7 separate regions of the Homo sapiens genome follow, and regions 1, 2, 3, 4, 6 and 7 are each linked to region 5. Evidence: promoter capture Hi-C in 16 types of primary human blood cells and fetal thymus (Javierre and others, 2016). All regions are on one chromosome and are shown on one strand. The core of a region is centred on a gene start or on the middle of the fragment in contact, and the rest is flanking DNA. Distances in the headings are between cores, read along the strand shown. Region 1 overlaps SLF2 (SMC5/6 complex localization factor 2). Region 2 has its middle 40 kb from the start of SLF2. Region 3 holds the start of LZTS2 (leucine zipper tumor suppressor 2). Region 4 holds the start of CHUK (component of inhibitor of nuclear factor kappa B kinase complex). Region 5 holds the start of NDUFB8 (NADH:ubiquinone oxidoreductase subunit B8). Region 6 has its middle 16 kb from the start of SLF2. Region 7 overlaps CWF19L1 (CWF19 like cell cycle control factor 1).

The links. Contacts are between HindIII fragments. The CHiCAGO score rates a contact against its expected background, and 5 or more counts as called.
Region 1: a contact is called between a fragment that was not itself captured here and the fragment with the promoter of NDUFB8 in region 5, in 4 of 17 cell types (naive CD4 T cells, naive CD8 T cells, naive B cells and 1 more). The highest score is 6.4, in naive CD4 T cells.
Region 2: a contact is called between a fragment that was not itself captured here and the fragment with the promoter of NDUFB8 in region 5, in 3 of 17 cell types (endothelial precursors, M2 macrophages and M0 macrophages). The highest score is 9.7, in endothelial precursors.
Region 3: a fragment that was not itself captured here is called in contact with the fragment with the promoter of NDUFB8 in region 5 in 3 of 17 cell types (activated CD4 T cells, naive CD8 T cells and naive CD4 T cells); the score reaches 8.1 in activated CD4 T cells.
Region 4: a contact is called between the fragment with the promoter of CHUK here and the fragment with the promoter of NDUFB8 in region 5, in 5 of 17 cell types (monocytes, erythroblasts, neutrophils and 2 more). The highest score is 6.6, in monocytes.
Region 6: a fragment that was not itself captured here is called in contact with the fragment with the promoter of NDUFB8 in region 5 in 2 of 17 cell types (endothelial precursors and M0 macrophages); the score reaches 6.7 in endothelial precursors.
Region 7: a fragment that was not itself captured here is called in contact with the fragment with the promoter of NDUFB8 in region 5 in 3 of 17 cell types (naive CD8 T cells, total CD4 T cells and M1 macrophages); the score reaches 10.0 in naive CD8 T cells.

The regions. Positions count from the first base shown.
Region 1 is chr10:100,914,017-100,917,442 of GRCh38, forward strand. It overlaps SLF2 (SMC5/6 complex localization factor 2), which reads left to right. Exons shown (of 20, transcript NM_018121.4): 2 at 1,983-2,026; 3 at 2,554-3,284. Among named protein-coding and RNA genes, the nearest start is that of SLF2, 2.8 kb to the left of the region's middle. The HindIII fragment of the contact is 1,881 bases long and covers 827-2,707 here.
Region 2 is chr10:100,871,655-100,875,031 of GRCh38, forward strand. No RefSeq gene overlaps it. Among named protein-coding and RNA genes, the nearest start is that of SLF2, 40 kb to the right of the region's middle. RefSeq lists a silencer at 824-893 and an enhancer at 2,368-3,034. The HindIII fragment of the contact is 3,257 bases long and covers 264-3,377 here.
Region 3 is chr10:100,996,890-101,000,718 of GRCh38, forward strand. It overlaps LZTS2 (leucine zipper tumor suppressor 2), which reads left to right and starts at 2,919. Exons shown (of 5, transcript NM_001318100.2): 1 at 2,919-3,063. RefSeq lists an enhancer at 1-7 and silencers at 91-380, 2,171-2,580, 2,681-3,060. The HindIII fragment of the contact is 2,612 bases long and covers 1-2,556 here.
Region 4 is chr10:100,227,097-100,231,049 of GRCh38, forward strand. CHUK (component of inhibitor of nuclear factor kappa B kinase complex) reads right to left here and starts at 2,500. Exons shown (of 21, transcript NM_001278.5): 1 at 2,332-2,500. The coding sequence starts at 2,436. CHUK-DT (CHUK divergent transcript) reads left to right here and starts at 2,564. Exons shown (of 4, transcript NR_186419.1): 1 at 2,564-2,628; 2 at 3,919-3,953. RefSeq lists silencers at 2,238-2,477, 3,547-3,809 and an enhancer at 2,588-2,637. The HindIII fragment of the contact is 6,397 bases long and covers 1-3,482 here.
Region 5 is chr10:100,528,621-100,532,341 of GRCh38, forward strand. NDUFB8 (NADH:ubiquinone oxidoreductase subunit B8) reads right to left here and starts at 1,251. Exons shown (of 5, transcript NM_005004.4): 1 at 1,147-1,251; 2 at 760-886. The coding sequence starts at 1,231. RefSeq lists enhancers at 1-115, 958-1,540, 1,674-1,723. The HindIII fragment of the contact is 5,505 bases long and covers 1-3,721 here.
Region 6 is chr10:100,895,153-100,898,926 of GRCh38, forward strand. No RefSeq gene overlaps it. Among named protein-coding and RNA genes, the nearest start is that of SLF2, 16 kb to the right of the region's middle. The HindIII fragment of the contact is 1,755 bases long and covers 419-2,173 here.
Region 7 is chr10:100,260,250-100,264,075 of GRCh38, forward strand. CWF19L1 (CWF19 like cell cycle control factor 1) reads right to left here. Exons shown (of 14, transcript NM_018294.6): 2 at 1,730-1,814; 3 at 717-795; 4 at 1-70. Among named protein-coding and RNA genes, the nearest start is that of CWF19L1, 5.5 kb to the right of the region's middle. The HindIII fragment of the contact is 1,848 bases long and covers 1,367-3,214 here.

The DNA.
Region 1 (3,426 bases), core at 517-3,016, 390 kb after region 5:
AAACGTTTTCAGTAAGTTTGGCACCACATCTTACTGGGCAGCCAGATCTGACTAAAACTAATGTAAGGCTGTTTGTGGTCTTTATCCCATTAAGTGTGAATATTCATGTTTTGCTGGAGAAATGTCAGTGGATTTGATTACAGGTTGCAGCACCAGACCCCACTGGGGACTTTCCATAATACATCCAAGTTATCCCCTTCCTAAAATCTGATAAATTCAGAATTCTAAAACACATTTGGCCCCAGAAGGTTCAGATAAGGGTTTGTGAAACTGTTATAATTGTGTGTGTGTGTGTGTTTTTTTTTAAGCCAGTTGTTAAATAAGCAGTGGACATTTTGTGTGCATATGAACTTAGAGAACCTACCTCTTGAAAGTTACATTCATGGTTATTTTACAGGTTTCTTGTATGTTTTACCCAAAATCATTTTTTCTCTTTCTGGTGTATTAATCAAAAAGGAGTCTGAGGTCCAATATTTTAGGGAAGAGATACAGTGTTACATTTAGTAAAATGCATTTAGAATTATCTTGTGTGCAACAAATGAGCTGCTTCTGGGTCCCTTCCCATCTCTCCTCAATCAATAACAAGATCAATAACAAGGTATCATCCTTCTTCCCTTTGCAGAACCTCCAACATTTACTCTGGTGGAGTTAATTTGCCTAGTATAATTTATGTAAACAAATGCATATATTCTTCCATAGCCCGTCACTCATATTCATCTCATAAGCACTTAGCTTTTATACCAGCATCTCAAACAAGCGTGATGGACTTGGTAAACCAGTAAAGATGTGCATTGCTCTTCTAATGTGACCAGTAAAGTGTACAAGAAGCTTAACCTTCAAGAAACTTGGATTGTTGGAATTTTCACTGAGCATTCCAACCTCATAGTGGATGAATGTTTAGGGAAATCAATAGTCTATAGCTTATTCTCTTTCAGTAAAATGATACATTTTAGCAAAATTTACCAGAAAGTTAATTTTTTGTTCAGCATATCATAACATCCCCTTTTTTGCAGCTGACAACTCTACAGTGAACAAATCAGAATACGAATTCTGGTAATGGATTCCTATTTCACTTTAGCATTATTGCCAATGTCAGAACTTGATTAGTTAAGCCAGATAATGAAATCCAGTCTTTACGGTACAGAAATTCTTAAAAATTAATTTGGTTTTTGTTATTCTTGTTAACTTTCTTCCTTTTCTCCTTGTGTTTTTCCCAAGCAATGTGTTATTTTTGTAACTATCTTAAGGATTCTTTGATAAAAAATTAAGAATTTGAAACTAGTTGTGACAACTCATTCTAATTTCTGCTGTTACTTAGATTAACATCTTAATGTATAAAGAGGGTAGCATAAGTTTGGTATTTTTCTTTTCTGCCCTTGTCCAGCAAACTCCTCTTCAACTGATTCCCTAGATCAGCCAAATCACCTGTATTGCCATTCTACCATCTACTGTTCTACTCTTGTTATGAGAGTCTGTTCAAGTTTTACTCCATTTTTATAATCCCCATTATTCATTTGGCATACATCTATTGAGTTTTTTTTTAGCTTGTTATTCTAAATTTTAAAACGCAGCTGTGCTTAGATACCAAGTAATTATTTTGTATCAATGTCTGCAGAGAACAAGTAGGTTCATATGCTGATACCCAAGATGTTGCATTCTACCATGTAGCCGTGAACATTTCAGTCTTAAGAAGCACTCTGTACTAATTCCTTGGGTCTACACACCAGTCTGACCTATTTAAGTACTATAAATAATATAAACCTCAGTTGTATTTTTATAAATGAACTCCTATAGGAAGTGATACGTTATATTTTCTGTTTTTTTAATGAACAGTTTAGCAAAGCATTGTTACCATTGTCAGAACTTTATTAAACCAAATAGTGAAATCCAGCCTTTATTTTATAAATCTTTCTCCATTTAATCTGAGTTATGAAGGTTTTAATATTTGCTTATATGATGCCATATTATGCTTTTATTTTCAGGAAGCAGTCAATTATAGATTTCTTCAAACCAGCTTCAAAACAAGGTATGTACACTGTTGATGCATTTTTTGTGGGCTATTTTGGGGGTGAGGAGAGAGACAGATTCAACTTTAAAACCTACTCTAAACTGTTTTAGTAAACGTAGTGTTCAAAATTGAAAATAAAATGAAGATGCAGTATTTTGTTTTACAAGGATAAACTGAAGTTCTAAATATGAAAGTCTTTTTGCTGTTATGTTTTCTTACATTTAAAATATTATTCTAGTAAAAAATTTAATGTTCATAATACATACTATTTTGATTCTCTAATACAGTAATTTATAGAGCCATAGGGAGGTTATATGATGTACCAAAAGAGAGCTTTATGAAACTAAGGCTTTTAACAAATAAATCATCTCTTAATTTCTCCTATACCCCCCAATAAAGTGTGTATCATTATCCAAGTTGTTGGTTTGAAAATTTTTGTGGTAACATTAGTATAGTTTAATTTATATTTTAAACATTAATAATTTAGATAAATATTAAATATTTTACTAACATGCAATTTGTATGTGTTTTAATTGGCTATTTAGACAGACACATGTTGGATTCACCACAAAAATCAAACATCAAATATGGAGGAAGTAGATTGTCTATCACTGGGACAGAGCAGTTTGAAAGGAAACTATCCTCACCAAAAGAATCTAAACCCAAAAGGGTGCCACCAGAAAAGAGCCCTATTATAGAAGCTTTCATGAAAGGTGTTAAAGAGCACCATGAAGATCATGGTATACATGAGTCACGTCGGCCTTGTCTGTCACTAGCCTCCAAATATTTAGCCAAAGGAACAAATATCTATGTTCCTTCTTCATATCACTTGCCAAAGGAGATGAAGTCACTAAAGAAAAAACATCGATCCCCAGAGAGAAGGAAGTCACTATTCATTCATGAAAATAATGAGAAGAATGATAGAGATCGAGGCAAAACCAATGCAGACTCCAAAAAGCAGACCACAGTGGCAGAAGCTGACATCTTCAATAACAGCTCCAGAAGCCTTAGCAGCAGGAGCAGCCTGTCCAGGCACCACCCGGAAGAAAGCCCACTGGGAGCTAAATTCCAGTTGTCACTAGCTTCTTACTGCAGAGAACGAGAACTAAAGAGGTTGAGAAAGGAGCAAATGGAGCAGAGAATCAACTCCGAGAATTCTTTCTCAGAAGCAAGCAGTCTTTCCTTAAAATCTAGTATAGAAAGAAAATATAAACCAAGGCAGGAACAAAGGAAACAGAATGACATCATACCTGGAAAAAATAATCTGTCAAATGTGGTATGTGTAAGAATTATTGAATTAGCATTGCTACTGCTATGTCATATTTAGAATACTAAATTTAAAAATATTTAAGAGTTGTTACATCACATTGACGTCTTTCCTGAAGGAAATACTTATGCACAGTTTGTGTAGAAGCTGG
Region 2 (3,377 bases), core at 642-3,141, 340 kb after region 5:
CTGCACCCCCAATACGTGTTCTGGTGTCAGGGGCCAGGCCAGGGCCTAGTTCAATTTCTGGTCAGAAACATTCTGAGGGGCCTAACTAGGGTCCCCCAGGACAGGCCATGCATAGTCCTGGAGGTTCCTGCATTGGAGGGTTTGGATGCATGATGGGGAGCTACAACCCCAAGGCAGGTGGGATTAGGCAGATTCAGGGGGTTCCCATGGGTCCTTCAGAGGTTGGGTAGGGTAACAATTCTTCCCAGGCTGGGGTTCCCCAAAGCTTGTTCAAAGGGGCCCTTACCTCTTCCACTCATCTATCACTGCCCACCATCCAAGCTAAGCCACTGGGAACTGCCTCTCAAAAAGCATCTCTCTGAGCAGGTGCGACCTGTGCATGTGAATGTGTAATAGGAACAACAGGCCAGGGTTATTGTAGGATGGAGAGACCTTCAGCCTGGGACTAAGAGGAAGGTAAATCACAGAGGCGGACAAGAGAGACACACCACATGCACTGCCCGGTTCACGGGCACCACACTGACCCCATACACAGATGCCAGACTTGGACACACAGCCGCACATGGTGCTTGCATCATGCACATTCACTTGCAAAGCCCCAGTCCCACACAATCATGGTCTCTAAATCGCCAATCCCGCACAGCTACACTTTTGGGCAGTTTGAATCAGGTCCAGGAGCTATAAGGGAGGATGACCAGACAAAAAGGGACATGAAATCATTGCCCATCTGTGGGGCTCTCATCGGGTGTTGGGAGGGGGTGTCAACACCGGGGAGAGGTCGCCCCCTGCTGGAAAGACGACTGTAACCACTTCCCCATCCAAGCCTGCCCAGCTAATCTTACCCCTAACCCTCCCCTAGTAAGACATCCACACACACCACACATTTATCCACCACACTCTGCCTAAGCCCCAGCCAGGCTGCATAACTCTGGGTTCTTTTAAAAACATGTAAAATCTTTGATCATCATTTGTTTAAACTGTATAAATAATCTACTGGGTTTTAATAGGATTTTTCTATGAATCGGCAACAAAGCATGAAATGTGATATTTTCACCATGAGTAGTTGGGAAATTAGTCACCTCTGTCCATGGCTCCCTGCTGGCTGGAGACCCCCAGGCTGTCTGGTTCCTGTCTCACCTCCACCTCAGGCCTTTCAAATGCTACCCCGACAGCTCCTGCCTTTTTGGGGTAGTAGGGGGAATTCTGTGGTGTCACTATGAGGAGGCCTGCTGGTTGTCTCCTCGTCTCAAAGCAAAGACCAGGCTGCCCTGGGTTCCCGTTTCTCTGATTTATCAGAAGTCAGGGTCTTTGGTTCTCTACGTCTCATTGCGGGCTACAGTGCAGGTTGGGATGGGGAACAGGGATGGGCAGTGGGTTTAAGGATAGTTATTTGGGGCAGAAGAAGTTCGAGGGCAGAGAGTTGGAGTCATTCACAATTTTCCCATCTTCCCCAAAGTTCTGCACACTTGTTCACTCCCCAGGCTGTTCCACACTCACAGCAGCAGGACCCACACACCCCGTCAAGGAGGCTGGGCCTGTCTCCTGAGGTTTACAAACTGCCCGCCCACTCTGGGAGCAAAAGGTGCTAAGTCTGGGAGAGGAACAACTGTTGGGGGCAAGGAAGGGTGAGAGATGGAGAACAGATCTAGGGAAGCAGGAAATGAGGGCTTCAGGGATGGCAGCCAGGCAGGGATCAGAGATGGAGGAATCAGAGATAAGACCAGGACTTCGGAGTTAGATGGATGAGGCAGAGATGGTGGAAACTGCCCAAATATGCAAGCGAGGCTTTCAGTCCAGCTCCCAAATGACTCCTGACCCCAGTCCCCACCACCAAGTACAGCAGTCCCAAAGAATGCCTCTTACGCCTCACTGCCCTGTTGGGAAAAGCCAGTGGCAATGCCAGTGACCAAGAGCCTATGCAGCAGGGCTGGCCCTGAGCTACCCAGATGGGTCTTGGGCCACCCAGGTCTCAGGCCAAAGCCTGGTAAGCCTCAGCCTCAGAGCTGGGCATGGGCCATGGGGGAGGGGGTTGTGGGGCCCCCTCCTTGCCCTGAACCACAGTCCACATGCTCCGAGCTGAGCAGGGCCCCTTCCTTTCTGCCCCCTGCCCCTGGCCCTAGATGAATAAAACTCAGGGGGCGGGGGGAGCTATTCATGGAACCAGAGAATGTGTGAGCTGCCCAGCAGCCCCCTCTCATTAGGGGACCCCCGTCAGGTGGCGCTCATTAACTTCAAGTTGTCTCTTGTTTTAAAACTCGGGTGAGGGGGGCAGGGTGGAGGGGCACATTGTCTGGCTGCTGCCCCAGAGAGATTAGGCGCCCAGGGGGAGGGGGCAGGCAAAGGCCCTTTAATTAGTTACTTTCAAAGGTTCCCTGTCCCCTTTCTCTCGGGTCCCCTTCCTAACCCCCGGCTGGGCCCAGCTTCGAGGGGGGCGGTCTTTTCTGCTTGGCAGAGCCGCCTGGTCACTCGGCTTAAATCCGCAGTCTTTGTTTCTGCCTGGACAATGGGCCCAGCACATCAGCCATGGAGGCCACGGAGGAAACAGGGCCTTCTCCTGTGCGGCCAGGAGCCGGCTGAGTGGGGTGCATCCTGGCACCAGCCTGCAACCTGGGGCCCCCAACAGGGGGCTGGTACCATGAATGCTTCCTAGGCTGAAAGGAAGAGGATAGGAACACACACACACACACACACACACACACACACCTCAAGACCTAGCTATTACAGAGGAAAAAGGAGAAACAAACCTCATGTCAGGGTCTCCTTCACATAGGAAGTTTCTAGGTCTTAGGGCCTGGCTCAAGGATGGGGGTGCTCTTCCTTTCTATACAGCAGAAAAAATGGTTTATGAGTCAGGCAGATCTGGGTCCCAATCTTAGCTCTACTACTCATGAGCAAATAATTAATCTCTCAAACTTCAATTTCCCTCATCTATAAAATGGAGAAAATAATGACTGCCTCTTGGGTTGTGAGGATTAAATAATCTAACTGGGTAAAAGGGTCTGGCACAGTGCTTGGCACACAGTAAGGGCTCAGTACCTGTTAGTTTCCTCCTTATATGGTTCCTATGGCCAGAGCCTTACCCTACACCCTCTACTACTAAGGAGCAGGTGCGTGGGACCCTTTCAGCTTCAGGGTGCCGGTGGCCGACACGGACTAAGCTCCTGCTGGGACACACATGCAGGAAAAGACTCAGAAAGCGCTGAGTGTGCAGACATGAATGAGGAGGAAGGAGAATCCCAGATTGGGAGTGATGGGGTTGGGGGTGGGTACCAAACAGAAAAGGGTGAGTGGGAACATGAGGAGGTAGAGGAGAGTGAGCCAGCTCTGGAGATCCTGGGGGGGTGGTCTCTGGGGGAGGGATTGAGAGGCTGTGTTGC
Region 3 (3,829 bases), core at 1-2,500, 470 kb after region 5:
TTCCCCAGGTCAAAAACCAAATCCAGTAAGCTGTGAAGTCAGAGGCCAGAGGGGCAGCCTCGGCCACCGTCGAGTCACTCTTAGGCTGGGCACTGGGTCGGCTGCTGGTGGAGTGCGGGGCAGACCACTCCCCTCCCTGGGTGGGGGGCGCGGCCTGAGCCGCCCCGCCCCGCCCCGCTCCACCAGGTCGGGCCAGGCGGGCGCCGGGAGCTGGGAGCCGGGAGCCCAGAGTTCGGAACCTAGAGTTCGGAGCCGGCTAGGGAGCCGGCGTTGTCGCGGCGAGGAGGTGGGCGCGCTGGAGCAGGAGCGGGGCCGGAACTGGAGCCGAGGCGCAGGTGGCGCTGGGTGAGTGGTGGGGCGGCGGAGGTGCAGGAACTCCCGCCTCCCGCTCATCCCCGCTCCTGAACGAACTTTCCGCTTCTAGGGAAGCTAGGGGTTGGGGTGAGGAGGGGGGTCCGCACTTGGTGGGGTCCCCGCGAAGAGTCCGAACAGGGAAGTGACACGAAAACGCACGCCGACGGGCCCCACACACGCGTGCACAGACCCACGCCCGCACTTGGGACACGCGAACACACATGCACTCGGAAAGGACGCGCCCAGTTGGCCACCCTTGCACTCCCAGGGACAGCGCCAGCCGGCCCGCGCGGACCCACAGCGGGCAGGGCACTCTGCGGTCGCGTATTGGGTGCGGGAAAGGGGCAGCCCTGTGACTACCGACGGGGGCGGGCCGGGTGGGACGCACCCGGAGGTTCCTGCTTCCTGGCCTCCCGCAGGTGAAGACCAAGACGTAAACAGACGCCGAGCACGTGACAGCTCCGCAGACCAGTGGCCTGTGCCCCCAACCCAACCACGGGGCGGAAATCCACCCTAGTCCGGGGCGCGTTTGCTTGGTCCCAGGCCGGACGGCGTTCCATTCTCCGCCTGGAGCGGGGATAAGCCCTCTCCCGGGAACCGGAGCACAGCGCCCCCTGGAGCCGGGGCGGAGCAGGAGGGCCCGGCTGCTGGGCAGGGCTGGGGTTAACTCGGGCTCCTGGACGTCCTTCTCCCCAGCACATTCTTGGTGTCTGCATCCCTGAAGGTTTCGGAGACAGGCCCTTGATGGCAGTGGACAGCTGCCCCCGCCTGTTACCGCCAGCCCAGAGAGCAGCTGCCTGAGCGCCTGCGGGTCCCCTTCCTACCCTCACCTCCACTCCTTGCGGGAGTCGGAGTCTCCTCCCCCCAGAAAATGCATGAGTGTAAACGCTCCCTCAATACCAGAGTGGGCCTGCCCCCCTAGAAAAAGGAGGACGAGCCCCTCCCCCCAGGGAATGAGGGAGTGGGCAGTAGCCCGATGCCTCCTCCTCGCCCCACCCCCTACCCCTACACACACGCTGAGCCCAGCTGCCGCCTGAGCTGGGCAGGCTGCCAGAAAGAGGAGGAGGCTCTCGGTGCCCCAGGAGGCAGGGATCAGGGCAAGGCCAGAGGAGGGGGCTCTGCTGGGGAGAGGGGCTCAGTCTGTTCTTGTGAGGCTGAGGGTCTGGGGTGAGTCAGGGTGGCTGGGCTGTGTTTCCCTTTCCAGGGAAAAAGAAAGAAAAACAACCCTGTCCATGGAGCTAAAAATAGAGCTGAGAGCCGGCCAGGGCTGTGGCCTGGAAGGGGGGGATGCTCCTTCCTGGGGCCCGGGCGAGCTCCGGCAGGCCTTGGCCCTGCGGGGGAGGGGGTGGTTAGGGGAGAAAGGCTGCCTTTGCCCAGGGATGCAGGCATCAGCTGACCTGACCGGGTCACCGAGACCCCTAGGGGAAAGGCTGTGCGGTAGAATATTTGTGAAGCACGGCGTGTAAGAAGTTGTCTGTGTGAGTGACTGTGAATAGAGGCTGTCAATGCGTGAAAGATGGTTAGGAGACTAAGTGCACTTGAGACTGTGACTGGGTGCGAAGGACTGCGGATTGTTGTGGAAGCCTGTGCCCAACAGGCCTGTGACACCGTGTCTGTGTGTGAGGTGGACTGGAAGATTATGGAAAGAAGGAACGCGGACCCACGTGACGGCTGAGACTGCGGCTGCATGTGGGAAAGGTCTTGTGGGTGTTAGGGAGACTGTATTGTGTGCGAGAAGGTGAGACTACTTGACCCTGAGGAAGTGGAATATTGTCTGCCGTGAGGCTGGTGTAGGTTTGGGCTGTAGGCTTGCACCGGTTCGCCCCAGTGATTGTTGGGGAGCCAGGGGCCGCTCCTCTCCGATAAATGACCTCTCTCTTAGCAAGTGATCCCGAGGGGAGGCTGGGGAGCACGCGGTCGCGCCAGAGGCCGGCCTGGGTTCGCGGGGAAAAGGGCACCGTGCCGGGGAGTGGGGCAGGGCCCGCGTGTTGGGGGCGGCTGGGTGTGTTCTCCGAGCCGGCCGCCAGGTGGCGTCGCCTCCGCGAAGCCCAGGTTGCCGCCTCCAACCCGCCGTGGGGCAGGCGCGGATCGAGCCTCGGCCTCCTACTCGGGCTAGGGCGCGGGGTCCCGGCACCGGAGAGTGGGGGACGGCCGGCCATCGGCCTCTCGCTTGGGACTCTGAGGCTGAGAGCGTGTCAGGGAAGCTTCGCCTGGAGAAGCGGAGGGGGAGGGGCGGCCGCCGCCGCGCCGTGGCCCTTTGTGCTGGAACAATGACCAGCTGCCGCTGGCCCCGGGGCCCCGGCTGGGGTTGAGGGTGACCACCGCCGCCGCCGCGTCGAGCCGAACCGAGCCCCCAGACACGCAGTCACAGGGCGTCGGAGGGAGGGCTCCCGACTGCCGCCGAGCAGCCCCTACGTGCGCCCCGGCGGATTCGCGTGACGCGGGTGCTTGCGCGTGTCCGCGCCCCGGGGCGGAGACGCCCCTCGGACCCTCCCCTGCGCGGTGCCGCCCACTCGCACCGGGCGGGGGCTGGCCAGGGCCGGGGGCGCCGCGGAGGCGGAGGCGGGGCTGGGCCGGGCAGCTCCGAGTGGCGGCGCGCGGGCCAGGGCCGGGGCCGGGGCCGGGGCCGGAGCCGGAGCCGGGGCCGGGCGGCGCGCCTGTGGAGCGCTGGGGGCGGCCTGGGGCTGAGCATGGAGCAGCGCGGCGGAGGTGAGGGGGGCCGGGTCTGGGAGGCGGCCTGGGGAGCCCCCAACTTATGCGCGGTGGAATCCAGCCGGGGGGACGGCGTTCCCCAGTCGCCCCCACTTTCTGGAAGGGGGGCTGGACTCTGGAGAATGGGTCAGGGGCTCCTGGCTTCCCGCCGCAGAATGGGAACTCGTGATCGCAGACTTGACCCCGCTTGACTGGTCCTTGGAGTTTGGGTGGGAGGGAGACTTTCCCCAACTCTTCAGATCCGTCTCCGGCCCTGAACCAGCTCCAGCCCTCTGCTCTCCTCAGCCCACTAAAAGGGGGGTGCTCCTGGGCCAGAGTGATTGCTCAGGGAGTGCTGGGGAGAATGAGGGGTTCCCATCTCCCACAGCCACAAACGCATTTCTCAAAATGGAGCCTCCACTTGCCCCTCCTTCTCTTTCGGGCTCCAAGAGCGGGAGCCGGCCTGGCTGGGCCTGGCTTTCCAGACTCCTGGCTCTGGCTCCCTGGATGTGTGGCTCTCAGGGCCCGGCTCTGTGGCACTTTGGACTTATGGGCCCTCGGCTCCGTGGGGTTGGGGGGCCCTGGCTCACTGGGTCCCGCTGGCTGTCCCCTTGTCGGCCTGACCCTCGGGCCTCTCCGAGTCTTTGTCTCTTTTGGGTCCCTGTCTTTCTCTGAGCCTGTCTCCTTCCTTCAATTTTCACTTTCTCCGTGCTCGCTGAAGTGGGGAAATGCAACAGAGGTGCCAGCCCCCTTGGCCCCCTAAGAAGTCCCTTCCCCACTGTTC
Region 4 (3,953 bases), core at 1,250-3,749, 300 kb before region 5:
AACAACACTGAGCCCTGAATGCTCATGTTAATGGAGCAATAAGTTATCTATTTCAAAAATCCCACTTTGTAAGATCCTTCAACTCCTTAATTTATATTTCATCAACTCTGTGAAATTCTACCTTTTCACAAAGAATATTCTATGGGAAGTTTATAGATGTACAACAACAACAAAAAAGTCGGAATATTCTGGAGATAGGGTTATGGCTGTACAACAACGTCAATGTACTTAATGCCACCTAACTGTACACTTAAAAATAAAGTGATAAATGTTGTGTTATGTATACTTTACCATAATAAAACAAAAAGTGATTAATTCATCCATCCCCACCCAGGGACCAAGAAAAGAAGTCACAAAAGCTGCCAGCATGCATCCTTTTTCCTTATGACCAGGCGGATAGGCAGGCTTAGGTAACACAGGCAACATGCCACTGGAAGCACTTGGCTCCCACTTTTTTTTTTTTTTAGTGTGTTATGTTCCCTCTGATGGTGAGAATTATTAAATTTACTACTTATCCTGCTATCACAGGACTTAATGCCTTAGTCCTTCACCTTCCATTCTCTTTCTCCAAGATTTTCTCCTATGCCCTATCTAGAAACCTGGTTCACAAAACTTCCTCAGTTCTAACAGTTTCAGTTGTCATTCTAATTACCCTAAATATGCCTATTTTCCCAAGGTAGACTCCTATCTCCCCTTTCTCCCACCCCAAATTACGAGCTTTCTCACTACACCCATGTTCCTTTAGATAACAAATTATTACTTTTCCTCTTGAATTAACTTCTCTATTCACAAGCCAAGCCCAGGCATTTTAGTAAGATCTTACCTGTTCATCTTGTCCCATATGTTGTTCCACTCAAATTTATCCTTTACAAAACCATTTTCCTAGAACAACACTTTTTATCTTGACATTTCCTTAAGGCCAATTAATGAGGAGCATTATGATCATAGCAGCAACAACAACAAAGTAGCAGCAGGTGCTAACAGTTGAGGGCTTTCATGGGTCAGGTACCGTATTTAGCTTTACACACATTACTATTTTATTTAACTCTCAAATCCATGATGCATGTAATTATTATACTATACTTACTTTACAGGCAACAAAACAAAGCCTATATTACAGGAATTATTAGTCCAGGGTCTATTTACCTAAAATGTCCTTTAGGAAGGCACGAACCTCTCAAATGGCAATGCATGGTTGTGTGAATGTGCATCTGTGCATTTTTCTGGGGAAAGGGTTCACAGCTTTTATCGGTATATCAAAAAATACATGTCCCAGGCCTGGTGCCGTGGCTCACGCCTATAATCTCTGCACTTTGGGAGCCTGAGACAGGTGGATCGCCTGAGGTCAGGAGTTCGAGACCAGCCTGGCCAACATGGTGAAACCCCGTCTCTACTAAAAATACAAAAAAATTAGCCAGGCACGGTGGCGGGCGCCTGTAATCCCAGCTACTCAGGAGGCTGTGGCAGGAGAATCGCTTGAACTCGGGAGGAGGAGGCTGCAGTGAGCCGAGATCGCGCCCTGCATTCCAGCCTGGGCGACAGAGTGAGACTCCGTCTCAAAAACAAAAACAAACAAACAAGACCCAAATATGATTTTTTAACTGCTACTACAATGGTTAAACATTCTCTATTAAATCAAAGTAAAATTCTTGAGTCTGATGTTAACTGTCCTCCACCTACTAGAGCGCCCCCCATCTCCATCTACTAATATAGCCTTTCGTTTGAAGCCATGCTCTGCACCAACTCACCCTCATACTGTCCCGACCTGGAATACATCCCCAATTCCAAAGCCCATCCATGCTTCCAAAGGCTTAACTCTGGACCCATCATGAAGCCTTCCTTGTCTACTCCAGTCCCCACTGATATCATATGGCCTCCAAGCGCGCGCGCGCGCGCGCACACACACACACACACACACACACACACACACGGACGCACACATTCCCAAAGGCAGTCCCCTTCAGCCCTCTTCTCACACATTCGTGCTCCTACATACACACTGTGACGTGCATCTGCCTCACACACCCTGACACTCCACATTCACAGAGACACACACGCACTGTCACACTCACTAAACACCTGGTCACAGCCTGACAGTCATACCCAAGTTCCCCGCAACAGCTCTATCTATGCCCAGTACCTCAAATACAACTTTGGACACACAGGCATAGTATCTTTCTCTCTAATACACACACACAAGCCCACTGGCCCCCAAATACTGCCCAAGGTCCCACCAACCATCTATCCCACACTGTCAGCCCTGTGTTCCACAGACGCTCAAACCCACCGCCGCTCCAACCCACCGCCGCTCCCTCTCACGCCCCGCCTCACCCGATGCTGGTACAGACAGACGTTCCCGAAGCCGCCGGTGCCCAGCCGCTCCCGCATCTCCCAGGGCCCGCCCGCGCCCGGCCGCAGCCCCGGGGGCCGCTCCATGGGGCGGGAGGGCAAGCGGCCTCAGGTTCCACAGTTGTTCCAAGGCCGGTTCCGGGCCGCCGATGCTCGCGCGTCTTTGTTCTCGCGAGAATGAATGCGTCACTTCCGGTAACCGCTGCGAGAAGGCCCTTCCCTAAGTTCTCCCAGGGCGCTGCCAGAGCCCTGCCGGCTAAGGGATGGGGAAACAAACAGGTACTCGGTCCGCTCTTTAAGTCCCCTACGTATTTTCCGGGAGGGCTGAACGGAACCACAATGTTTTTCTAGTCTTGGAAAACATAAGATCTCTCCAAACCCCACATTCCCGTCAAATCCACTTTTCAAAGCAGCCCAGTCTCTCCTGTATTTTTTTCTTTTTAATTAAGATGGGGTCTCGCTCCGTTGCCCAGGCTGGAGTGCAATGGCACGATCACGGCTCACTGCAGCCTCGACCTCCCGGAATTAAGCGATCTTCTCACCTCCCGAGTAGCTGGGATTGCAGGCGCGCACCACCTCGCTTGGCTAATTTTTTATTTTTTGTAGAGACATGGTCTTGCTACGTTGCCCAGGCTGGTCCCGAACTCCTGGTCTCAAGTAGTCCTCCCACCTTGGCATCCCAGAGTGCTGGGATTATAGACATGAGCCACCGCGTCCAGCAATTAGTCTTTTCTAAACTTCATATTGTCTCTACTCCTATCTACACTTCACCTTTCTTCAGATCCCTGCCATCTATCCTCCAACTCCACCACCAGCTGATCCGGCACGCTAAAGACCACCAATGATTTAAAGGCTGCGAAATCGTTAAAATACTACGCTAGCAGGCCCACTAATGAATTAGCCTTCTTGTTCACTGACTTCCCAATACACCTGCTCCAGGATATCCCCTGTCATCCCAAATGACTCAAGAATGTGACGCTATTCCGGAGTGAAGAGTGTTTCTCGGGATTTCGCGAGCTTTTTTCCTAGATGCCTCACAGAGCTTGCTGTCCGGCAGTCCAGTTATGGGTTTGCCAGCACAGTAGTTCATTGTGAGAAGTGTTTCTAATGGGTGCTACAGGGCTGCAGAGGCAAGCTTTGGGAATGCTGTTGGTGCAGCAAGTGCTTCCGGGTGGCGGATTGCCATAGCATAGGGGAAACAACTCCTGGTCTTCCATTTAAGAGGGTCATACCTTCACTGTACCTGGGGGATCTCAATACTCCAAGTAAAGGAATCAGCATGGAATCAAATTATTGATAAATGTGATGCTGCAACCAGAATGTTGAGCACTGCATGATACAGACGAAGTCGATGTTGTAGGTCATTAGTAACATGTGGTATGGGAGGTTCTGGTTTCTGTAAGTGCATGGTTTCCATGGACTTGGAGATGATGATGCCTCTGAGGACATGTCATTTAGAGCTGGGCAGACCGCACAGAGAATTGTGGTACAGATTGTTGTAACAGTATGAAGCCCTCTCATTTGCTGTATGTACAGCATGGCCAGTGCTAATGTGCTCAATTTCCGTAGGTGGGGCTGTAATCTCGTAATTCCCAGTCAAAAGA
Region 5 (3,721 bases), core at 1-2,500:
CACTGGCTTCGAACAAGGCTGCTCTTGTCCACAACATAAGAAAAAACAGGAAATGATGACAACTAGACATATGCTACAGAAAATGAGTGTATAACAAGAAGAATAGAAGTTGCTGAAACCAAGATTGAAAGAGTGACATTAGGACAGGAAATAAAGGCGATGATAATCACTTCAGATAATTAACCATTGGGATGTTATGTGGGTATGGATACGGAAGAGTGTGGAAGGGATAGGATAACATCAACTGGAGTACGTAAGGGGGCTGGCTGTTTAATCTGCTTAATAGTTGCTACGATTTCCACAGCACTAACAGAAAAACATTTTTTTTAAAGAGACATACACACAAATATAGAGTACTCCGTTTACAAATAAGATTCTCATGACAGGAGTCCAGCTCCAGCCTGGTCACATGCCTGGATGACAGCACCTGAGCGCAGCAGATGCTCAATCTAAATGAAACTCGACGCTCTGGATAGAGCCAAGGAAGGCTCCTGCTATTCGGGGGTCCTCGAGGGAGCCATTAAAACCTCGGCTTCCTCATTTGAGGAAACAGCCTGAGCCAAGGAGAAAATTGAAGTCCTCTCAGCTGCAGCTGCTCACCCACCCCCCTCCCACCTCCCTCCACAGAGAAAAGCACCCACTCCATTGACTCTGAGGGGTCACGAGAAGGTTCGGGAAAAAGGGTCACAGTCAAGCCACCCAACCCAGCCGGCCTTCTCCCATCACTACTTGGGTGCGAGCATACCCTCTCTGTCTCACCCCATGCCATCATCCGGGTAAGGTTCGTAGTCTTCCACACGCATATTATACTTCTTGGCGGCGGCGGCCCGTTCTTCTGGGGTCCTAGGATAGGGCCCCGGGAACATGTCCTTGGTCATGTGGGAGGCTAGAACGCAGAAGAGAACAGGTCAGAAGCGAGCCCGCTCTCCAGCCGCTCCGAAGGCTTCAAGTCGCAGGGGCTGCAGAGGTCCGAGCCCGGGACTTCGCAGGATCAGTGCGATCCTCCACCCCATTTTCTGGATATATCAACGCCACCTCCACTCCCTACCCGGAGGCTGCCGCCGCGGCATCTACGATCCCCCCTCCCGATACACCAAATTTCAGGTACCCCCTTCCCACACTGAGGTCTCGCCCGTTCTCGCGGACCTGTCCGTGCGCCCAGCGGCATCACGTTCCGGGATGCCCTTTGCAGCCACTGGACTCCCAAGACCCCGGCCCTGGCCACCGCCATCTTCACCTTCTTCACGTTTCCCTTCTGCACATGCGCAAAGGCCTGTCACGGCGGCTGAGCCGGGCCAAACGTGACGGAGGAAGCCGGGAGTGAAGAAAAGCCGAAGGGTTCAACAGGGGCGGGGTTTAAATACGCAGTTGGGAAGCCAAGGGTTGGATAGAGGCTGGGAAGGATAAGCGGGAAGAAGGGAAAACCAGGCAGGTCTCTGACATTTCAGAATGTTGTGTCCTTTTTCTCCCTGAGCTGACTTAGACCCATCCAGGGATGATGGGAACTCGGAACCTGAGCAACTCAGGTAGACAGCTTAACCACCTCCCCCAGGAGCTGTACTAGTGAAATGAGCCTGTCTTACTCTCTTCTCTGGCTGCTTGCTTTCCTCTCCTTCACGGGCACTTCCTTCCATCCCCAAACATGATCATTCTTCAAATTCACCTGTTGGTCTTGCTTGTTGTTCTGTTCTCCAAATGGGTTGATCTTCACTTAGACGCCAGTGCAACACACAATTCGGCCCTGAATTGGCTCCTTAGTTTCAGTCCGTGTTTCCATCTGCATGTCTCAGTCACCTCAACCCAACAAATGTAAAATTAAACTTATCACCAGAGGCAGCTCTCCAGAGACAGCTTAAAGCCTCAGAGTTGGTAGGACTTGGATAAAACAAATTACAAACCGGCCCATAATGAACAAACTAACTCAACAGAAGAATTGGAGACATTATTATGTTTGCATATGAATGTTTTCACTTGGGATTTGAATAACTTACACATTATAAATATGCACGTATTTCCAGTGACTTTTCAGGTGACCACTGTTTTGGAGCAGAACCTATTATTATAAACATTCTCAAGTATATATCAGAGCAATAAAAATGCATATAAGCTGGGAGCTGTGGCTCACACCTGTAATCCCAACACTTTGGGAGGCCTAGGTTGGAGAATGGCTGGAGACCAGGAGTTTGAGACCAGCCTGGGTGACATAGTGAGACTTCGTCTCTTTTTTTTTAAGTTATAAAAAGTAAACAAATATGGATATATACTATTTAATATATAAATTTTGGGAAGGACTACACAGCAACTTGCTGTCTTGTAAATGACATCACTAGTTGATGTTCAGAATAATTGCACAACATCTGCATTCAACCAATAGCAAACCCTGATCCAATTTAGGTCAAGAAACAGAGTTGATCTAATTTATTTATTTTTATTAAGATATTATTCACATACCATAAATTCACCCTTTTAGGCCGGGTGCGGTGGCTCACGCCTGTAATCCCAGCACTTTGGGAGGCTGAGGTGGGAAGATTACTTGAGGTTAGGAGTTCAAGACCAGCCTGGCCAACACAGCAAAAACCCATCTCTACTAAAAATACAAAAATAGCTGGGCATGGTGGTGTACACTTGTAATCCCAGCTACTCAGGAGGCTGAGGCAAGAGAATCACTTGAACACAGGAGATGGAGGTTGCAATGAGCCGAGATCACGCCACTGCACTCCAGCCTGGGTGACAGGGTGAGACTGTCTCAAAAACAAAAAACAAACAAACAAAAACAAAAACAAAAAAACCTTTTAAAGTGTACAGTAGTTATTTTTAGTACATTTACAAAGTTGTGCAATCATCATCACTATCTAAAACATTTTTATTGCTTCCGAAAAAACCCATACACATTAGCACGTTGCCCCTACCTCTACCCACTGGCAACCACTAATTTACTTTCTGTTTCTATGGATTTGCCTATTCAGACAGTTTATATAAATGGATCATGCAATATGTGGCCTTTTGTGTCCATTTTCTTTCACTTAGAATAATGTTTTCAAAGTTTGTCTGTGTTGTAGCACATATCAGTACTTCATTCCTTTTTGGGCTGTATAATATTCCATTATATGAATGTACAGTACAATATTTTATTTATACATTTATCAGTTAATGGACATTTGAGTTGTTTCTGCTTGTTTGGCTATTGTGAATAATGCTGCTGTGAACATTCTTGTATAAGTTTTTGTCTGGATGTATGCTTTCTATTCTTTTGGTTATATGCCTAGGAGTAGAATTGCTGGGTCATAGGGTAACTCTGTGGTTTAACTTTTGAAGAACTGCCAAATTGTTTTTCAAAGCAGCTGTGACATGTTACATCCCCATTAGCAGTGTGTGAGAGGGTTTCAGTTTCTCCACATCTTTATCAACACTTGTTATTGTCTCTTTTTAGTATCACCATGCAAGTGCCTGTGAATGGTACTTCATTGCAGTTTTCATTTGCAGTACCCTGATGACTAATAATGCTGAGCATCTTTCCATGTGCTTATTGGCCATGGTATACCTTCTTTGGAGGAATATCTGTTCAAACCCTTTGTTCATTTTTAAATTGGTTTGTCTTTTTATTGTTGAGTTGTAAGGATTCTTTATGTATTCTAGATACAATTCCCTGATCAGATACACAATTCATAAATATTTTCTCTGACTCTGTAGGTTTTTTTGCTTTTTTACAGTATCATTTGGA
Region 6 (3,774 bases), core at 46-2,545, 370 kb after region 5:
GTTTTTGTAGCTTTAGTAGAGACGGGGTTTCTCCATGTTGGTCAGGCTGGTCTCAAACTCCTGGACTCAAGTGATCCACCCGCCTCAGCTTCCCAAAATGCTGGGATTACAGGCGTGAGCCACCGCACCCAGACCACAGGGTAATTTATTATCTCCAAGTAGGTGTGAAATAAATGCCACAATGGAAGGACAAGCAAAATAATAGAAGGGCTGGGGTTTTCGTTGTTGTAGTTGTTTTTTAAATAAGCCCCAAGGATCCTCCTCCACCCAAGCTTGCTGCCAAGTCTAGATCTCCTTCACCTTCTTGCAGTGGGTCCTGGAACCAGCCTGCTTTCCTCTCCTTGGGGAGGTACCTTTGCCAGCCTCCCCAGCTCCTCCTTTCTTGCTGCTCCCCAAAGACAAATACATTTTATTTTAAAGCTTTTATTGCTTTGCTGCTACTGATTTACTGCTAATCACCATGGAAACAGACGTGGAAAATATAAACAACACGATTGAGGAAGCCACACATAATCAAGAATCTTACAGGTGTAACAAGGTTTGGTTCCCCCGCCTGCCTCTTGACTCCTTTATTTTTGGTTTGTCTTTTTTTCTTTCTTTTTAAATTTTTTTTGCAGTTCTCCCATCTGTGCCATCGACTCCTTTCTGAAATGGTTACTGGAAGCCCTCACTGGGTGCTACCCTCCCTTTCAACTCTCTCTCCTTTCTCTCTCCCTCTCTCCCTCCCTCCCTCTCTCTCTCCTTGGGTAGCCAACTATCCATCAAGCAAGACCCACTCAGAGTGGCCATCAGCTTTACATTGGGGAGGGGGCCTCTCACCTCACAGGAGTTCTGTTCTCCCAGGCCTCTCTTTTATTGGGTTTTCATCTCTGTATAACACATTAACAAATAGGCCAGACAGGTAATCTGTGTGTCTCCAAACCAAGGATTAGCTAAAGCCCAGTAAATCCCAGTTGGCCCCAGCAGCCTTTGTCTTCAGGAAGCACCAGCCCCTGATGAATTCTCCACTCAGAGAAGTCCCCTCAGCCCATCAAAGTCCCCCATCACCACCTGATACCCCTCCTCTCCAAACATTGTAGTCTCCTTGCTGCCAACTGGCCACTTTTTGTCCGGCTCTGTGTTCCAGTGAGCATCCTCCGCCCGGGAAAGGCTAGCTTTTTTTTTTTTTTAAGACAGAATCTCACTCTGTTGCCCAGGCTGGAGTGCACTGGAGTGCAGTGGCATGATCTCAGCTCACTACAATCTCCATCTCCCGGGTTCAAGTGATTCTCCTCCCTCAGCCCCCCGAGTAGCTGGGATTACAGGTGGCCACCACCACGTATGACTAATTTTTGTATTTTTTAGTAGAGACAGGGTTTCACCATGTTGGCCAGGCTAGTCTCGAACTCCTGTCCTTAAGTGATCCGCCCGCCTCAGCCTTCCCAAGTGCTGGGATTACAGGAGTGAGCCACCGCACCTGGCCAAAGCTGGCTTTTATGCTGGTACCATTGCTACCTCCCATTTAAACACAGCTTATGAAAACTCACTGTGCTCAATATCTTTAAATGATTGTATCTACATTTCATTTACTTATGTATGTATTTATTTATTTATTTTAGAAACAGAATCTCTGTCACCCAGGCTGGAGTGTAGTGGTACAATCATAGCTCACTGCAGCCTCAAACTCCTGAGTTCAAGCAATCCTCCTACCTCAGCCTTCCAAGTAACTAGGGCTATAGGAGCATGCCGTCATGCCCAGCTAATTTTTTTTTTTTTTTTGGTAGAGAAGGAAGTCTTGATATGTTGCCCAGGCTGATCTCGAACTCCTGGCCTCAAGTAATCTTCCCATTTCTGCCTCCCAAAGTGCTGGGATTACAGGCACGAGCCACCATGCCCGGCCCCACGTCCACATTTTATATTGACCCAGCTTGCCAGAATATTTACATAAAGCTCTGAATCACACAAGAAGACAGCCCAGAGGGTCTGTTTACATAGGAAAAAGAGCTGATGATTTATTAGAGGGTCTGAGGTAATGTCAATTCCAGGGGGTCAGCTGGAAAAGAGAAAAATAGGGGTTGGAATCTTAATAGTCAGATGAATGTCAAGCAAGCCCCATCTGACAAGGGGAACACAGGTCAGAGGTGGCAGCAGCAGGACAGAGGAATCAAAGGAAACTGCAGTGAATCAAGGGTGAAGCTTCAGACTGGGCAGCAATATCTCAGTAGCCTACACCGAGGTGAGACCACACACAACCATACAACTGACGAGTGACATTCTTGGACAAGGCCTAACTGTCCACTGCCTGCACTTTATATTTTATGTTGTTTTTAACCTTCATTGTTTTCCTGATTACAAAAATAACTCATACTCATTGTGAAAATGTCAAAAGTTACAGAAACATATAAGGTAGATGTTAAAATCCTGTCTTTCAGAGATATAACCACTTTTAAGTTGAGGTGTATTTATCCAGATTGCTTTCCCTGCATATATGAATATTTAATAGATATAAATATATATGTAAAGTTTACAAAATTTATTTTTATAATAAAATTAAAAATGTAAATATAATATAAAAATATAATATAAATTTTGAAATTTATATAAAATATTTTTATAAAATCATAGCCAGACTTAGAACTTAAGCAACCCTAAGCCTAAAAATGGTTACTCTGTCCCCTGGCCCTACACATGTATAATTCAAAATTAAAATACTAAACAAAAAAAAAATAAGCAAAAAGTCAAAGTTTTAATTTTTTCTTTAATATTTATTTCAGTATTTTTTAAATGTATTCTTTCAAAAAGTTGTGGGGTTTTTTAGGTTTTTGTGTCTGGTTTTTTTTTTTTTTTTTGTCTTTTGCTTTCTTGGTGCCCCAAGCATATACCTGATTTGCAAATTAGATAATCTAACAATTCATACAGTACATATTACACATTGTCTTGCAACTTTTTTTTTCTTTCACATAAGATATATTTGGGGATCTGTCTATGTCTGTATCTAAGCATGACTGTGCCTGGCAGGCGTGTGAGCTCCTCTCCAGAGAAAAACAGAGTCTTTCAAATGCTGGTGCCTGTAGCCAAGGGTTAGGATCTTGGAGGAATTTTTCATGGCTTTAATAAATTAGTGTTACAACCACTAACTGGCAAGGAAGGTTTCTCCAGATTCAGAATTGAGTTCACAAGCAACTGAACTGCCTTCAAATCTTTATGGGAGGAGGTGAGATATAAATGAACTCATTCATTTATTTACATGTAGTTCAACTCAGGAGCAATGAATGTTCTCTTCATAATTAGGAGAGTGTGATGTGAATCCATTGGTGAGAAAAAATAATAATATTTAGGAGTGAAGGTAAAAATCATCAAAGTTTCATTAGTACAAGTTTTTCCTTTGTCTTAACTCTGTTAGAGAGAGAATGTAGAATTGGACTGTGTCGTAAATTGGTTATTTAACTATTACTTAAATATAGTACTTTTGTCTCTGATTTCTAATTGTATTGCATTGTAGACAGAGAGTATTATTTGTGTGCTATCCATTTATTGACATCTCATTGAATCCTTCCATGGCTTAGAACAGTCATTCTTTCTAAATATTCTGCATGTGCATGAAAAGAGCGTATATTAATACTGCAATTTTGTCCACCATCCTGAGTAAAAGAAAAAAGCAGAAGACTAAAGCCCATATTCTTATTTGAAATTAGCATTGAGAGATATGCTTTCATATATTGTAAATCCTGAAATTCACTTGGCTGAAACGCTCAAAGCCTTTTGCAGAAAAGAAAAATTTTTAATTATAAATGG
Region 7 (3,826 bases), core at 1,041-3,540, 270 kb before region 5:
CCATCAGCATCCTGGAAATATTTTACTGTTTCCTGGTTATTAGCACCAAGCACATATGTCTGAATAGGAGCTAGTGAGGGAAACAGACATGACACCATATAGTTACCAGATCTGCTTTAGAACTTAAGATATGCCTCTCTATAGAAAAAATACTTATATTAAAAGTAAATAGTCCATGCATTCACATTCCCCATATTTAGCAATCCTAAATGTGGAACAGCTATCCACTAAGGATATACTACACCCAACCTTGTAGCTTGGCTATTTTATTTATTTTATTTTTTTTTTTTTGAGACAGAGCCTTGCTCTGTCGCCCAGGGTGAAGTGCAGTGGTGCAATCTCGGCTCACTGCAATCTCCGCCTCCCAGGTTCAAGCAATTCTCCTGCCTCAGTCTCCCGAGGAGCTGGGATTACAGGCATGCGCCACCATGCCCTGCTAATTTTTATATTTTTAGTAGACACACGGTTTCACCATGTTGGCCAGGCTGGTCTTGAACCCCTGACCTCAGGTGATCCACATGCCTCGGCCTCCCAAAGTGCGGGGATTACAGGTGTGAGCCACTGCGCCGGATAGTCTTAATAATGAAAAGCAACTTAAATTCTTAAATACTGAAAATAACTCTTAAATTCTTAAATAATGAAAAACAACTCTGCAAGAACTCTGGCCCTTGAAATTTTATTAGAAATCATATGTTAAATAAAAATAATTTCTATACCTTTCTTGATGCCAGTCTTATACTCCTCCCATTCAGCATCTTGGGTGGAGCCAAAGAAATTTCCTACACACAACAGCAGCTAAAATGAGTTTTTTAAACAGATATATGAGATTTTAAAATATCAAACAGTACATAATTGATAGTAATATTCAACTAGTTATTTAATAGTTTCAAATCAGTTTTTAATTCTTAATCAATTTGCAGATTTCAATATACAATTCTTTAGCAGCAACTGTTAACAGTTACTGATTCTATGAATTATTAAGTTTTGGCTCTTTGGCTGTCAAATTCAAGTTAGAGATGGGTAAGAGAGAGTCAAGGAACTAAACTTTTAAAGTAAGTTAGAATTCAAGTGCTCCTCAAATTCCCAGTCCCACTCTGCCATTCATGGCTCTCTCCACATATCCTTCCCTGGAATATACAGTCACATAGAAATAGATCTTTAAAGAATCCCCGTGTGAAACAAAAAAACTTAAAATATTAGAATCTGAGAAATACAAGGTATAAAAAACACATTTCCTGCCTGTTGTCTTTACCCAACCTTTAACCCAATGAACAAATTATCCTCATACCTGGAATACTCTCTTCTGTACTCTTAGGAGTTTACAGTCTAGTTGGCAACCATACACAACATTCATATAGAGCTTTTAAGCTTGTGATGGGTTGGTATGTATGTTACCTGACTTAATCCTCATCACATTCATGAAATAGATCTGTGCTTCCCAAACCCAGAGGTCAGAATCACTTAGGGAAGTGTTGCTAGTCTGTTTTCAGTTTTTTGTACAGTGATAAAGTAACAATATTCAAATTCAAAAAATATAAAGATCAATAGTAAACAGTAAATAGGTCTCCCTCCCCCAGCCACTCAGCAGCTACTAAGTTCCTATGCTCATGAAGGGAACTCAATTTAACAAAAATGGTATGTGTTCAATCAAGACTTAAAGGAGTGCAAACTTTATTTTTATGTGTGACTACAAAGGTAAAATTAAATTCAGTAAAAACAAACATCTTACATCAAAGTTTCCACTTTTCTTCTGAATTGCTTGAACTCTATTGAATAAAATATCAAACTTTCCTTCAACATCTCCACAAGCCAAGCTGCAAACAAAGAGATAAACATTATAGCAATTCAGGAAACAAATGGGCCTGCCGGGTTTGGTATATACTGGTCTTTTGGATTAGATAGATACATGATCTAGTCTCTCTGCAGTTACCTTGCAAGGTTCAGTGCACGTAAACCACTGGGCAGATCCACTGAGGGTCTCACCAACACCTCCCACTCGCCGTATCTAAAATTTAGCTTATCATTTACTCCACAATTGAGCCAGCTTCTTCTCCTCATTCCTAAGTTTTGTGGACATGTCTATGGCTGACATGGTCAACAAAAGTCAAAAATCCCCCATCCAGTCACCAAGTCCCATCAATCCCTTTTTCCAAACATCTTTCACATTCATTCTATCCTTCTTATTTTGACTCCTCCTATCTTAGTACGACTCCTCCTATCTTAGTACAGGGCTTCAGTCATTCATTTGATAAACAGGTACTGGACACCTACCATACGCTAAGTACAATATGCCAAGTATACTATGCTAAAAACATGTTAGCAGTACAAGGTGGAGGAAGACTCAGTTTAAGCCTCAAAGAGTTTATAATCAGGGAAAGGAAGACACTCTAATCATTATAAATTTATAAGAAAAGGGCTACAACAGAGGTATGTGTGAAGTGTTATGGGGCAGGAAGTAGAAAATGGCAAGAGCTGACATTGGTAAGGTAAACTGGCCCTACGTTGTGAAGTGACTTTTACTATCATCTCATTTCTGAGATTTTCTAATTCTGATTTATGTGGTTTTTCCACGGCTTATATCATTTCCTTAATGTCTTTTAACTCATCTTGAAATATTAAAATTTTATTGTTTTGTGAGTGTCTCTTTCTGGCGTGCTTTTATTGTACACCTCGCCAAACTTTTTTTTTTTCTTTTTCTGAGACAGGGTCTCACTCTGTCACCCAGGCTAAAGTGCAGTGGCACGACCTTGGCTCACTGCAACCTCCACTCCACTCCACCCCACCTCACCCCCTTCCTATGGCAGAGGAAGAATCAGACAAAAATACAATGCATCTAGTGTTAGATTCAAAGTAGAGAATACATTTATGTTTCCTCTAATGCCTTCTCTTCCTCCTGTCCATCCTACAGAAAGTAGTCAGTTTAATGTTCTTTCCTCAAAACATTAAGAGGTTCCCCACTGCCTATAGAACCACAGCTTTCCACAGGCCCTGACCTGTCACCTTTCTAGTACTTTCTCCAAGTTTTCTTAACTGAACTGGCAATTTGATTACTCTCTGCCTCTGTCATTCCCTAGGGTAGTTCCACCCTACCCATCCTAAATCCAAGTTTTTCCCATCCTTCAAGGTTTAGCACATTTCTGAAGCCTTCCTGGCTGGCTCAGAAGTCATTACCTTCTCAAAAACTCAGAAAACCACATTACAGCATTTCAGAGAAAGCTTTGTCATAAACTAATATGACTTTTATTTATATTTTGAGCACCACCTCCTCTAGGAAGCCTTCTAGTACCTATCAGTTACCAATTTCTAGTGTTCCCATAGGAGCCTGCATTTCTTCCATCACAGCAGTTGTCACACGGAATTACCATTGTCTCTGGGAGATCCACTGTCCAGTTTATACATCACCAGGTGCCTCATCTCCTCATCTGGGCCCTTTTCCACTGTTCTCTATCCCACTGAATAAAGATAGAAATCTATGACCCAACAAGGCCAGCTCCTTTTCACTCACAATTAAACCATCACAAGCCTTGTTGATTTTACTTCCTTAATAAACCCTGAATCCCTAAACTATTCCTCTGTCATCACTCTACCTAATCCCAGCTGTTCTCTACTTTGGCTCTGATTTGTTCTCCACATTGCAGACAGAACTGCTTTCCAAAATGAAAATTTGATCATGCCAAAGCGTTCTTAAGCATTTCAATAACCTTTTTAGGTTAAAGACAAGAATACAGTTACGTGCCACATAACAATGTTTCGGTCAACAAGGGACCACATATGTAATGGTGGTCCCATAAGATTATAATGGAACTAAAAAATTCCTATCGCCTAG